3 separate regions of the Homo sapiens genome follow, and all the other regions are linked to region 3. Evidence: promoter capture Hi-C in human tissues and cell types (Jung and others, 2019). All regions are on one chromosome and are shown on one strand. Each heading gives the region's core, a stretch centred on a gene start or on the middle of the fragment in contact. The rest is flanking DNA. Distances are from core to core; before and after follow the strand shown.

Evidence for each region. The method cuts DNA at HindIII sites, captures the fragments that hold promoters and counts their contacts. A contact is called where the count stands out against the background at its distance.
Region 1: a fragment that was not itself captured here is called in contact with the fragment with the promoter of SIGLEC1 in region 3 in 3 of the 25 tissues and cell types used here (bladder, dorsolateral prefrontal cortex and mesenchymal stem cells).
Region 2: a contact is called between a fragment that was not itself captured here and the fragment with the promoter of SIGLEC1 in region 3, in 2 of the 25 tissues and cell types used here (H1 embryonic stem cells and thymus).

The regions. Positions count from the first base shown.
Region 1 is chr20:3,635,828-3,639,651 of GRCh38, forward strand. It overlaps ATRN (attractin), which reads left to right. Exons shown (of 29, transcript NM_139321.3): 27 at 3,001-3,108. Among named protein-coding and RNA genes, the nearest start is that of GFRA4, 26 kb to the right of the region's middle. The HindIII fragment of the contact is 6,634 bases long and covers 1-3,824 here.
Region 2 is chr20:3,615,780-3,619,853 of GRCh38, forward strand. The region is part of intron 24 of ATRN (attractin); the gene reads left to right. Among named protein-coding and RNA genes, the nearest start is that of GFRA4, 46 kb to the right of the region's middle. The HindIII fragment of the contact is 5,534 bases long and covers 1-4,074 here.
Region 3 is chr20:3,711,003-3,715,063 of GRCh38, forward strand. It overlaps SIGLEC1 (sialic acid binding Ig like lectin 1), which reads right to left and starts at 1,598. Exons shown (of 22, transcript NM_023068.4): 1 at 1,468-1,598. The HindIII fragment of the contact is 16,568 bases long and covers 1-4,061 here.

The DNA of each region.
Region 1 (3,824 bases), core at 245-2,744, 75 kb before region 3:
AAGTGGATAACATATTCAAAGGGTTTTTTAGATAACTGTATTACTGATATACTTTAAAAGCCTAATGAATTACGTGATGTTCTGAAAAAAATTATATTTTCAATTTAATTTAAATGTATATTTATTCACAATGGAGTAAGAAAGAAGTAAGAAGCCACAGTAAACCAGTTATCAAGAAAGGAGTTGAAAACTTTTGAGTGCTACTCTCTCCAAGAAGGACATTAGACCCAGGGAGTTTCAAGGTTGAGATGAGCTTATGGAGATTATGATAGCCTGTTCCTCCCTGAGTGCTTATGAGAATTAATTGTTTCTAAAATCTGTAAAGCAAAGGAACAGATGGAAAGCTTGAAAGAGTCCGAATTGATTTTATACACAGAAATCTTGGTACCAAAACCTGACAAAGGTAGCACCAAAATACAAAGGGCAGCTGCATAGTGAATGTATGTGCAGCAGTCTAATTGCAGTGTAATGAAAGAGTCACTTAATACCAGAAAACCTATTAGAATATATCATGTCAAAAAAAGAATATATCATGTCAATGGGGAAAAAATAACACCTGAATTCTTCCTAGTGGCCCAGAAATCATTTCGTCATTTATTGAAACTCAATATCCATTCCTAATTTGAAAACAAAACTCACAGTAAAATCAAAAATACCTTTTTAACGCTATGAAGAATATCTGGATAACCAGCATCACTCATGATAAAACAAACAAACACCAGAGGTTGTATCCAGGCTAGTTAGTTTTAACAAGAGCTGACATCTGAGCATTTAAAAATTCCAGGCACTGAGTTCTAAGTGGTTTTACGTAGATTAACTAATCCTTATCTCAAACCTATGAAATAGGTATTGTCCCTCGTTATGTTTTATGGATGAGGGGACTGAGGCTCAGAAAGGTGAAGTGACTTACACCACATAGTTAACTAAGAGGCAGACGAGGCTTTAACTAGGGACTTCTGTCTTCACAGCCCAAGTTCGTTATCTTCGTGTAATCCTACAGTCATTCAGCTTTGTGCTAGATGTTCTAGACTGTGCACTAAGTGAAAGGGCACTAAGAAGTGTTGTTACTATTGGAAAGGAAACAAAATTATTATTTTCATATAAAGTTATTAAAACAATGTAGTAGAGATTTGCCTGCATAAAAATGAAGGCTTAAGTATATCAAAAAATAAATGAATAACACAGAAGCTAAACAATCAACTGGAAATTGTTTGCAGTGTGCATGAGAGAAAGTAAGATGCACAGCCTACAGGAAAAAGATTAAAATATATATATGTGTTTAGTATGGAGTTGGTCATCTAATAAACTATGCTTTTACCCGTGTGATTTGGAATTTCTCTGTAACTGTGAAGCTGACCATTCAGAATATATTTCATCATTTTTAAAATGTCAGCCATTATTTATTCCCTCTCAGAATTGTAGAAGCAATGATTTGATGTTATTTTTAAAAACAATAGTAGTAGCGGCTGACGCTGTTTAGTCCTTGCTACACACCAGCCCCGGTTTTAAGTGCTTTTACACATGTTGCCTCCTGAACCCTGTCTTATTGTGACCCCAGCACTTAAGCACAGACCCCAAGGAGCATTGCTGCATATATTAGTCGAGTAAATGGACCTACAGCTTTAAAAAATGTAAGAATGTTGGTATTTTAAGAAAATATTTATAAAAATGCCCTTCTAGAACAGAGCCATATCTATCCAGGCCAAGATTCTGTCTTCTACAGTAGTTCCAAGGAGGCAGTTTGAAGTAAGGCCTACTTGTATCCCAAGGCATAACCTCAAAGCTTCAGCATCATGCCCAGAAAGATCTCTAATATCCTTAATGATATGTGAACGGCCGTTCACCATGTGCTAGGCGCTGTGCTGTAGTATCTCATTTGATCCCAGTGACAACCTTATGGGCTAGGAACACATTTCAGAGGGAGGACACGGATGCCCAGAGACTTCAAACACCTTTCTTAAGGTCACACAGCTGTAGACTATTGGAGCAGGAGTTCACATCAAGCCTCCCTAAATCCCGAGCCCCTGTTTGTCCCTCTACTCTGCAAAATTTCACATTTGTTTGTTTTTAGCTTATACCACCTCTCTGAAGGAAGGGTTCTTTCAGTTCCTATCTGCCGTATAATGAGGCATAGGTTTTTGTTGTCCTGTGAATCCTTGGTGCCAGTTTCAGTAGGAAGAAAGCAAGCCTGACTTTAGTAGTAGAAATACGAGGAGATAGAGCCACACCATTTTATGTATTTGACAAGTCGACGTCATAGCATTAAATCCACAGTACTTTTATTTTTATCTTTATTTTCTTATTTTACTTTAAGTTCTGGGATACATGTACAGAACATGTAGATTTGTTACATAGGTATACATGTGCCGTGGTGGTTTGCCGCACCTATCAGCCTGTTATCTAGGTTTTAAGCCCTGCATGCATTTGGTATTTGTCCTAATGCTCTCCCTCCCCTTGCTCCCCACCCCTGACAGGCCCCAGTGTGTGATGTTCCCTTCCCTGTGTCCATGTGTTCTCATGGTTCAACTCCCACTTAAGAGTGAGGACATGGAGTATTTGGTTTTCTGTTCCTGTGTTGGTTTGCTGAGACTGATGGCTTCCAGCTTCATCCGTGTCCCTGCAAAGGATATGAACTCATTTATTTTATGGCCGCATAGTATTCCATGGTGTATATGTGCCATGTTTTCTTTATCCAGTCTATCATTGATGGGCATTTGGGTTGGTTCTAAGTCTTCGCTACTGTAAATAGTGCTGCAATAAACATCGTACGTTAATATGTATCTCTGACAGGGGCTTTTAAAAAATATAAGGACAATGGTGTTATCACATCCAACAAAATTTAGTAATCCCTAATGTTATCTAATATCAAGTCTAAAAAGTATCATTTTGGACTTGATTTGTTTGAATCAGGGAGGATGAGGTGTTTTTAACATGTAGCATTAACTAATAAAACCCCTTCAGTACTCATTCCATTAATGGCTTTGCCATATTATTTATCAGCAACTTCTTCGAGAGATGCAACAGATGGCCAGCCGTCCCTTTGCCTCTGTAAATGTCGCCTTGGAAACAGATGAGGAGCCTCCTGATCTTATTGGGGGGAGTATAAAGGTGAGAATGTGACTCAGAAGTCCCTATAACTTGACTTTTTAAAACTTAGGCTCCTAAGTCTGGGAAACCAGAGAGAGCAAAAGCCCTATTCCATTACCTCCTTTTTTTCCTCTCTTTCTTTTTAACAATAAGCTAAAACCTGAAGTTGCTGGGTACTCTTTTGCTTTTGTTTTTCAATCTTTGTTTCATGTCGCTGAGCAGTCTTGTGTTCAGGGGATTTTAAAATCTAAATGATTTGTCTGCTTTTCTTTTAAGTATTCTGTGGCATACAAAACTTTTATTTGAAAAGAGCTACATTGAACATCGAATCATTGTTTTTTTGTTTGTTTGTTTGTTTGAGACAGAGTCTTACTGTGTCACACAGGCTGGAGCGCAGTGGCATGATCTCGGCTCACTGCAATCTACCTCCCGGGTTCAAGCGATTCTCTTGCCCCAGCCTCCTGAGTTGCTGGGATTACCGATGTGCGCAACCACGCCCAGCTGATTTTTGTATTTTTAGTGGAGATGGGGTTTCACCATGTTGGCCAGGCTGGTCTCGAACTCCTGACTTCAAGCAATCCACCCACCTCGGCCTCCCAAAGTGCTGGGATTACAGGTGTGAACCACCGCACCCAGCCTATTTTTCTTTATATTTTGGGGAATTTTTTAAGCAGCAAAATGATAATACACTGTGTATTAATACTCTGTGGAAAATATTTATCACCCCCCTCCCCAAA
Region 2 (4,074 bases), core at 1,101-3,600, 94 kb before region 3:
AACTATCGCAAGGACAAAAAACTGAACACCGCTTGTTCTCATTCATAGGTGCAAACTGAACAATGAGGACGCATGGACACAGGAAGGGGAACATCACACACCAGGGCCTGTTGTGGGGTGGGGGGAAGGGGAAGGGATAGCATTAGGGGATATACCTAATGTTAAATGACGAGTTAATGGGTGCAGCACACCAACATGGCATATGTATACATATGTAACAAACCTGCATGTTGTGCACATGTACCCTAAAACTTAAAGTATAATTAAAAAAAAAAAAAAGAAAAATGTGTTATTCCTTTGTCTCGAAAGTCCCCTGCTTTTCAGCTTTCGCTTTGGTTGTCTCTTGTCAGCTCTTTAATGCTATTGTTCCCTTGGGTTTCATCTGGACTCTTTTTCCCTGGGCAATCTCATCCACACCATCTGGGAACATTGCCTTTGGCTGGACAGGTAAATCTTTGTCTCTAGCAGACTTCTCTCCTGTGATCTCCAGAGCCAGGAACCCACTAGACTTCCTTAAAATTCATTCAGCCAGCAGACTTTCTGGCCCAGAGCAGCAGCTGTGAGTGGACAGCAGGCACCTCGTTAGAAGCTCGGTGTTGGAGGTGTGCCCATGCATTCCTGGGAGCCATGAGAGGGGAGGGGAGTGCCCTGTGTCACCTGAGTCCAAGTTAAGAGAGATCACACCAGAGCTGATTCCTAAGGAGCATGGGGGCGGGGGAAGGGGGTGTTCGTGGTGGGGAAAGGAAATGACCAGCCCTTTCAGGAACTACCAGGAGTTTAGCAGAGCTGGTGACAGTGCTATGAGCAAGAAGGTGGAGAGCTGGGGAGGGCCATTATGAAGAGACTGGAGATTGCAGGCTGTGAACTTGAGTCCTGATGTGACTGGGAATTGTTGAGATGTTTTAGGCCGAAAAGTCACCGACGATCAGTGTTTAGAAAGACCCCACTGGCAGCAGTTGGGAGTGTGGATTGGAAGGAGCCAGGCCTAAGTCCTGGGAGGACTTAGGAGGTCCAGGAGTCCAGGGAGTCCAGGTGGAATTCTTGTGTAGAAACCCAGGGAAGGGGACCATCTGATGACACACATCCCATAGCAACTTCCTTTCCTCCTCTGCACCTCCACAGCAGAGTGTCTGTTTCCACTATACGAAGATTTCTTAATGGCAAGGATCGCATTTTTATCCCTCAGTGTCCTCAGTGTCATGTGCTAATCAGTTGGAGATACTCCCTAAATGTATGCCAGATGAGTATATAGTTGTTAGTATAAGGGCTTTACGGTAGGTATCAGAACTTTTTCTTTTTTACAACTTTTATAACTTTTATAAAGGAGCCGACACCTTTTTCTGATATTGTCAGAACAATTGCTGACCAGTGCTATGGGCTGGCTGAGGTTGGCAACCAAGAATCTGTTATCTCAGTCTACACAGCGTGGAGTTAGAAGATTGGATTGTTGTTGGTTAGAATTTTGTCCAGAGAGTTAGAAGATAGAAGAAAAGGGAGGGCTGAGGACATAAACATCCAAATTTTACAAAGAAGAAAGTTCAGTGCTCCTGTCAATATTGAAATAGTTAAGAGGGAAATGATTGGGTCTGGGGAATGCTTCAAAATAATATGATCATAGGGAAAGTAAGTGTAGTGTGGATGAAACAAGGTTGGCCTTGAGCTGATAATTTACTAAAGCAGGATGATGAGCGTGTGAGGTTCATTATAGTGCTCTTTCTACTTTTTAAAAAGCTTAAGATTTTCCAAAATGAAAAAGAAGCTGAGCATGGTAGCTCATGTCTGTAATCCCAGCACTTTGAGAGCCTGAGACGGAAGGATCACTTGAAGCCAGGAGTTCGAGACCAGCCTGGGCAATATAGTGAGACCCCCATCCCTACTAAAAAAGAAAAAAAATTACACAATGAAAAGAATAATACAGGTGGTAGAAGAAGAAATAAAGGTATGAGTATATGATTTGGCCTCCTACAGACAGCTACAGGAGCATGCCTCTGCTGGGCGGGCCTGGAGCATAGTGCACCCTGGAGCTGAAGTTCTGTTCGCCTTTACAGGAAGTACACAGCATTGTACGGGGGTTTTACCAGTTAACAGTGGACAGTCTCTAGAACACTCAGGGGTCAGGGGCAAAACTCCCTCTCCCTCAAACCAGCCCACCTGTCTTGGTGAGAATGGAAAACGGAGCTTCCCAGCAAGCCTCCTGCCTTCACCCCGACGCACAGGTGCATCAGGGTCTGAGGGCTCCTCCCTGTGGGGCCTGGGAAGCCGCCCTTCAGTGGGCTATGGCTGCATTGTCTTCTGATCTTGTAGCTGTGTGTGGGTAACAGGCACATCGTCTCCCCATATCCCAGAGAGTCATGTCCACTTCCTATCTGTGGTGGCATCTTTCCATCACTGTCACCCTCAGGATAATGGCACAGGAACTAACAGAGGCACTAAGAGCAGTGATATATACTGGAGGGAGGGGCGGGGCTGATGACCAAAATCACCTTCTGTTTCAGTAAGAGGTTGGTTAAAGTGATGCCTAAAATGGATAGATCAGGAAATAACAATAAAAACATTAATGATAAAAAGGCAACTGCCAGAAGAACTGAAAAGTAACCTAGTTCAAGGTGGGGGTCCCTGGAGAGAAGCCTTCAGAAGAGCAGAGGAAGAGCAGGGAACATTGCTTTTCATGACTAGCCTTTCAGTACCTTTTGATATTTCAGCTAAGTATGTAGTTCTCTAATGATTTCTAAATTGTTAATGAGTGTGATAGAATAGGAATTCTGGAGAATGGTCAAAAGGAATTGCTAGGAGAAAATTAGGGAAAGAAAGCACAGAGCAGTATTGAGGTGGGAGGTTGGGAGCAGACAGATGGTGAGTGTTCGTTTGCATGGCAGGAATGAGTGGCTGAATGGCATTAACTGGCCATGGGGCTCTGACCAGAGCTTGGGTATACAGTTTCTGTGCCAGCACAAACCAGCATTAGGTGCGTGGTGTGTGAGGCCGGGTGATGGTCATATGGATCTGGTCCAGAGCTGTGGTCTTGACATAGAGTTCCATGTATGAACTTTGGTGGTGGTGGTGGTTTTGTTTCGTTTTTTAAGAAAAAAGGAAGAGTTGTTTTATGTCACAGCCAAACTCAAGGAGGTGACAGCACAAGACCCAGGTTAGAATGTACTTAGCCAGGGCTCACGGAATCTTCCATCCTTTGCAAAGCCAAGAAGAGTAGAGGCCTCAAGGAGAATAGAGGAGCACATGGGCTCCTTCTGGGCTGAGCTCTCACCCTTGGTGGGGCCGCTGGTCCCAGGGGGTCGTTGGGAGCCTGCGGAGATTCTGCCCAGTACATACATACCTTGCGTTTTCTCGGAGCCTGACAGGTGCTGCCTTGAAGCGGAAAGACTTCACCTCACAGGGTGGCCAGCTGTCCTTTCTCTTCCTCTCCCTGTCTTGTGTGCTCATGATAATGGATAGATAGACATCTCCATGGTAGAAATAATGCAGCCCTTTCTGCAGTCCATGGTTCCACAGCATATGGTCAGTAGACTTAGATGAGTGCTACATAAAGTGTAATTAGTTCTGCACCACGGTGTCTTACCTTCTGAAAAGGAAACTCTGGTATTGACTTAGAAATGCCAGTTTTATCCTTCCGACCAGAACGCAAGTCCTGAATGAGGCCAGAGGCCAATGAAAGGTCCTTTCTTCTCTCTTTTCAAATCTGCTGTATTAAACAGTGACTTTTCCTAGTCATTCAGTATTCATTCATTCATCCATTTATTCAAGTTTTTGAGTACCTTCTTTGTGGATGGCACATAGTAGATGCAAAAATACAATCATTTTTAAAATGGAAAGCATTTGTTATGTGGTAGTGGAATATAAGAAATGCCATGCTTCCATATTTTTATGGTAATCTTGGACTCAGGTTCTACCCACCATACTTAATTAGAAATTCATTCTCAGCCTCTGTTTTGGCAGAGACCCATTCTCTTCCCTCAGGAACATACAGAAACCTCAGGGCTGAACTGAGCTCAGAGGTTGGGGAAGGTCCCCTGGTCTGATCTTCAGTCGCTGACTGCTGCGCCCGATTCCCTGGCCCCT
Region 3 (4,061 bases), core at 348-2,847:
GGACAGTGCCCCGCCCCCCGCCCCCCGCAACTTGGGTTGCAGCTGTGGCCTAGTGAGCACGCAGCGCCCCCTGGTGGTCGAGGGGGAATTGCGGGTCCCGGGAAAGGGGGCGGTGTGCCAGCAACAGGGAGCAGGCAGCTCTGCAGCCCTGAACCATCCCTCCCTTGGGTGACTCTTTTGGAAATCATTGTTCCCCAGACAGGAGGTTCCTGAGGTTCATACTTGGGTCTCCAAGTCTTGGGTGCTCTGAAGACAGGATTTTAAATCCCCACTCCTACTATTGGTATGTGTTGCATCAGGGTGGCTTGAGCTGGCCTGGTACACAGTGGGCACTCACGTTTGCTGCCTGTTTGAGACCAAGTGCCTCAGGAGGTCTTGGAGGGTTGGCTGGGGCCCCAAGTCCCTGACCTCTGATTCCAGAGGCCAAGTTTAGCTGGGGAAGAAAGGGCAGAGGCAGTTTCCCTATGGACAGCTAGGCCCGGGTGTAGGATTCAGTTTCTGTTTCCTGACACCAAGGCTTCTCCCCAACTTCCCCATTGGGCTAGAGAAGGAAGAACACAGGGTGACATGGCCAGCTGGAGGTTACTGGCCCACAGATAGGGAGTCAGGGTACGGATGGGCAATTCCTGGAGCAGATTATGGTCAAAATAGTGGAAATCCCCAATCACAGGCCAAATGTTTAATTCTCAGAGCCATAGAATCCATAACTAATGCTTATTGGCTTTGACATGGGCAGTAGAAATTTCACACTTCATTCCTTAATCTGGCTCTAAATGCTTCTGGCTGGAGTGCTCACTCTCCAAACTGTGCTGGACAGCACCAGAAGCCCTCCTGTGGACGGACGAAGTGGTGATGGATGAAGTGGAATTGTGCTGGGGTTAGAGTAAGGAGAGATTATCGTTGGGCTGGGCTGGGGCTGAGGTCAGGGTGATGATCAGGTTGGAATTCTGGAAGCAAATTAAGGCTGGGATTGGGGTGGACATTGAGGTTGAGTGATGGGTGGGGGTAAGGGTGAAGGTTGGAGTTGGGTGCAGGTGATGGTTAAGATACGGTGGAGGCTGGGTTGAGATGAGGATGATAGAGTCGGAGTTGTGGTTAGGGTTGGGATGATGGATGGTTGGGATTAGATGAGATGAGTAAATGGTTAGGGTTGGGGTGCAAGTGAGGTGAGGGTGAGATAAGGTTGGAATAGGGGCTGGGGCTGGGGCTGAGGTAGGGTCAGAGCAGGGTGATGGTCGGGACTGGGATTGGGATGCAGGTTGGAAGGATTTGGGGGTGGTGGAAGGGTTTCAGTTGAGTCCATCTTTGATTAGTGTCTTGGACTTGGGTTGGTTTGGGGTCCACCACTCGCACCCAGATGGAGCCCCCCCCCGACCCCTGCCCCTATCCCGCTCAGCCAGTTTCAGCCCAGCCCCGCTCCTAATGCTCCACTCACCCTCTGGGCCCAGGGACCAGGGACAGGGGTACCTGCTCCACAGAAGGAAGTGGCTGCGGCGGTGCTGGACCTGCGGAGAGGAGAACAGGAAGGACGGCCAAGAGCTCCTGGTGCAGCTGGCTCCCCAGGGCTCTGCCGGCTCAAGAGAGAAGGATCCCGTATCAGGGGCTGCTTCCTCTTTCCCAAAGCCTCAGCTCTACTGTCCAACCCAGAGGCTGGTCAGGGAGGCAGCTGCAGGCCTTGCGCAATGCCAAAACGGGAAAGACCTCCATAGGGGAAGGCCCTCGGCAAGGCCAGGGACTTAGGGACTCCAGCAAGCAGAAGTGGGACCGCTGCAACGCTGGAGCCTCCCCAGGCAAAGTGAGAAATGGAGTGGGGGACTCCCATTCACCAGCCAAATCCACACCCCACTCTCTCTGAGCCCCTTAGGGAGGCTGGGGGAGGTGGAAGGGGGCTTCCTGCACACAGCTCTCCTCCCTGACACCTGAGAGGGAGGCGCGCCCAGCCTGGGGTGGGGATGCACTACACGATGCCCAGACCAAGGCAGTTATTCTCCAAGCCATTCAGGAGCCTCCCTGTACCACTGAGTACTCTTAAGAACCCCCAAGAGGCAGTCCCGTGTTGTGGGGGACATAAGGCCCCAATGTCCAGGACACTCCTCAGGTTTTCTCTTTCCCCTCTCACTGTCCTGTACGTTTTTTGGTTTTTGGCTTCTTGTTGTTGGTTTTTTTCTTTTTGTTTTGTTTTTGCTTTTGAGATGGAGTCTCACTCTGTCGTCCAGGCTGGAGTGCGGTGGCACAATCTCAGCTCACGGCAACCTCCACCTCCCGAGTTCAAGTGATCATCTTGCCTCAGCCTCTCGAGTAGCTGGGATTACAGGCATGCACCACCACATCCGGCTAATTTTTGTATTTTTGGTAGAGACGGGGTTTCACCATGTTGTCCAGGTTGGTCTTGAACTCCTGACCCCAAGTAATCTGCCTGCCTCGGCCTCCCAAAGTTCTGGGATTACAGAGGTGAGCCGCTGCACCCGGCCACTATCCTATACCTTCACCCCCACCTTGGGACAGGAAAGGAAAGCCCCCACCACAGCTAGTTACTGTTACATTACTGCAGCCCATCTTATTGAGGGCCTAGTTTGTGCAGGCACTTGACATGTGAAGCAGATGTTAATTGCTCCAAGCAATCCCAGATACAAGCAACAAGACTTTTTTTGGTTTTTGTTTGTTTGTTTGTTTTTGTTTTTTGAGACAGTGTCTTGCTCTGTCGCCCAGGCTGGGGTGTCCTGGTGCAATCTTGGCTCACTTTGGCTCACTGCAGCTTCGAAATTCTAGGCTTAAGCAATCCTCCTGCTTCAGCCTCCTAAGAAGCCGGGATTACAGGCGCTTGCCACTATGCACGGCTAATTTTTTAAGTTATTTTGTAGAGACGGAGTCTCCCTATGTTCCCAGGCTGGTCTCAAACACCTGGGCTCAAGTGACTCTCCCACCTCGACCTCCCAAAGTGCTGGAACTACAGGCGTAAGCCACCACTCCTGGCCATTTTTTTTTTTAATTTCACAACTCAAACTTAATTCAACTCAGTCCCTGCCTACCTGTACTGGTGGGGAGCTGGCCACAGCAAATTAGGCCCCTGTACCCTGAGGGCAAGGCCACGTGTGCAGGTGTAAAAGGATGTGAAACCCTAAATCAGGGTGGATCCAGAATCGCAGGCCATGGTGCCCCAAAGCAGATGTCTGGTGACATTCCACCCTGAAATGCTCAGGCTACAGAGATATTAGGTCTCTATCACTCTGTTCCTCTTTATAGCTCCTGTGTCCACTCCTATGCTTGGGCCATTTCCTCTTTCGGCCAAAACACAAAGGGTTCATCCCATTACTTCCTCCCTCAACAGCTGGTCCGGAGACACCCAGCTCTAGGCCTGTGGGGTTGTGACACATGGGTACCAATCCTTCAGTCCACTGGGACTCTATACATCCACCCCTTGGCTTCATGGTGGGAAAGCATCCCTTGACTTTGACCTTAGTCATATGACTTGCTCTGGCCAATGGATGTGCACGGACATGACACAAACTAAGTCTTGAAACGTACTTAAGCAGTTTGCCTTTCCCCCTGAATTTCTGTCATTGCCATGCAAGGGGCAGGCTCCAACTAACCTGCTGGTCCAAAGAGGATGACGAACACATGCAGATGACCTGAATCAGACCCATGGATTGAAACAAAACTCAGCTGAGCCCAGCCTACGTCCACCAGACCAGTCAACCTGTGGATGCGTGAATTTATTGCTGGATGCTGCTGAGAATTTTGTGGCTACATTAGCAAGATGATACAAGGCCTAAGTCCCAGAACAACACACCCAGAACTTGCTTACCTTTCCTTAGCATGAGGAGAGCAAAGACTTGTCTACCTTGATTAGTCAGGGAGCACTGCTTCCTGTCATTTCCTTGAGTATACAGCAAACTAGGTAAATAAATAAAAATAACTAGGTAGGCTGGGCACGGTGGCTCACGCCTGTAATCTCAGCACTTTAGGAGGCCGAGGTGGGCAGATCGCTTGAGGCCAGGAGTTCAAGACCAGCCTGGTCAACGTGGCGAAACCCTGTCTCTACGAAAAATACAAAAATTAGC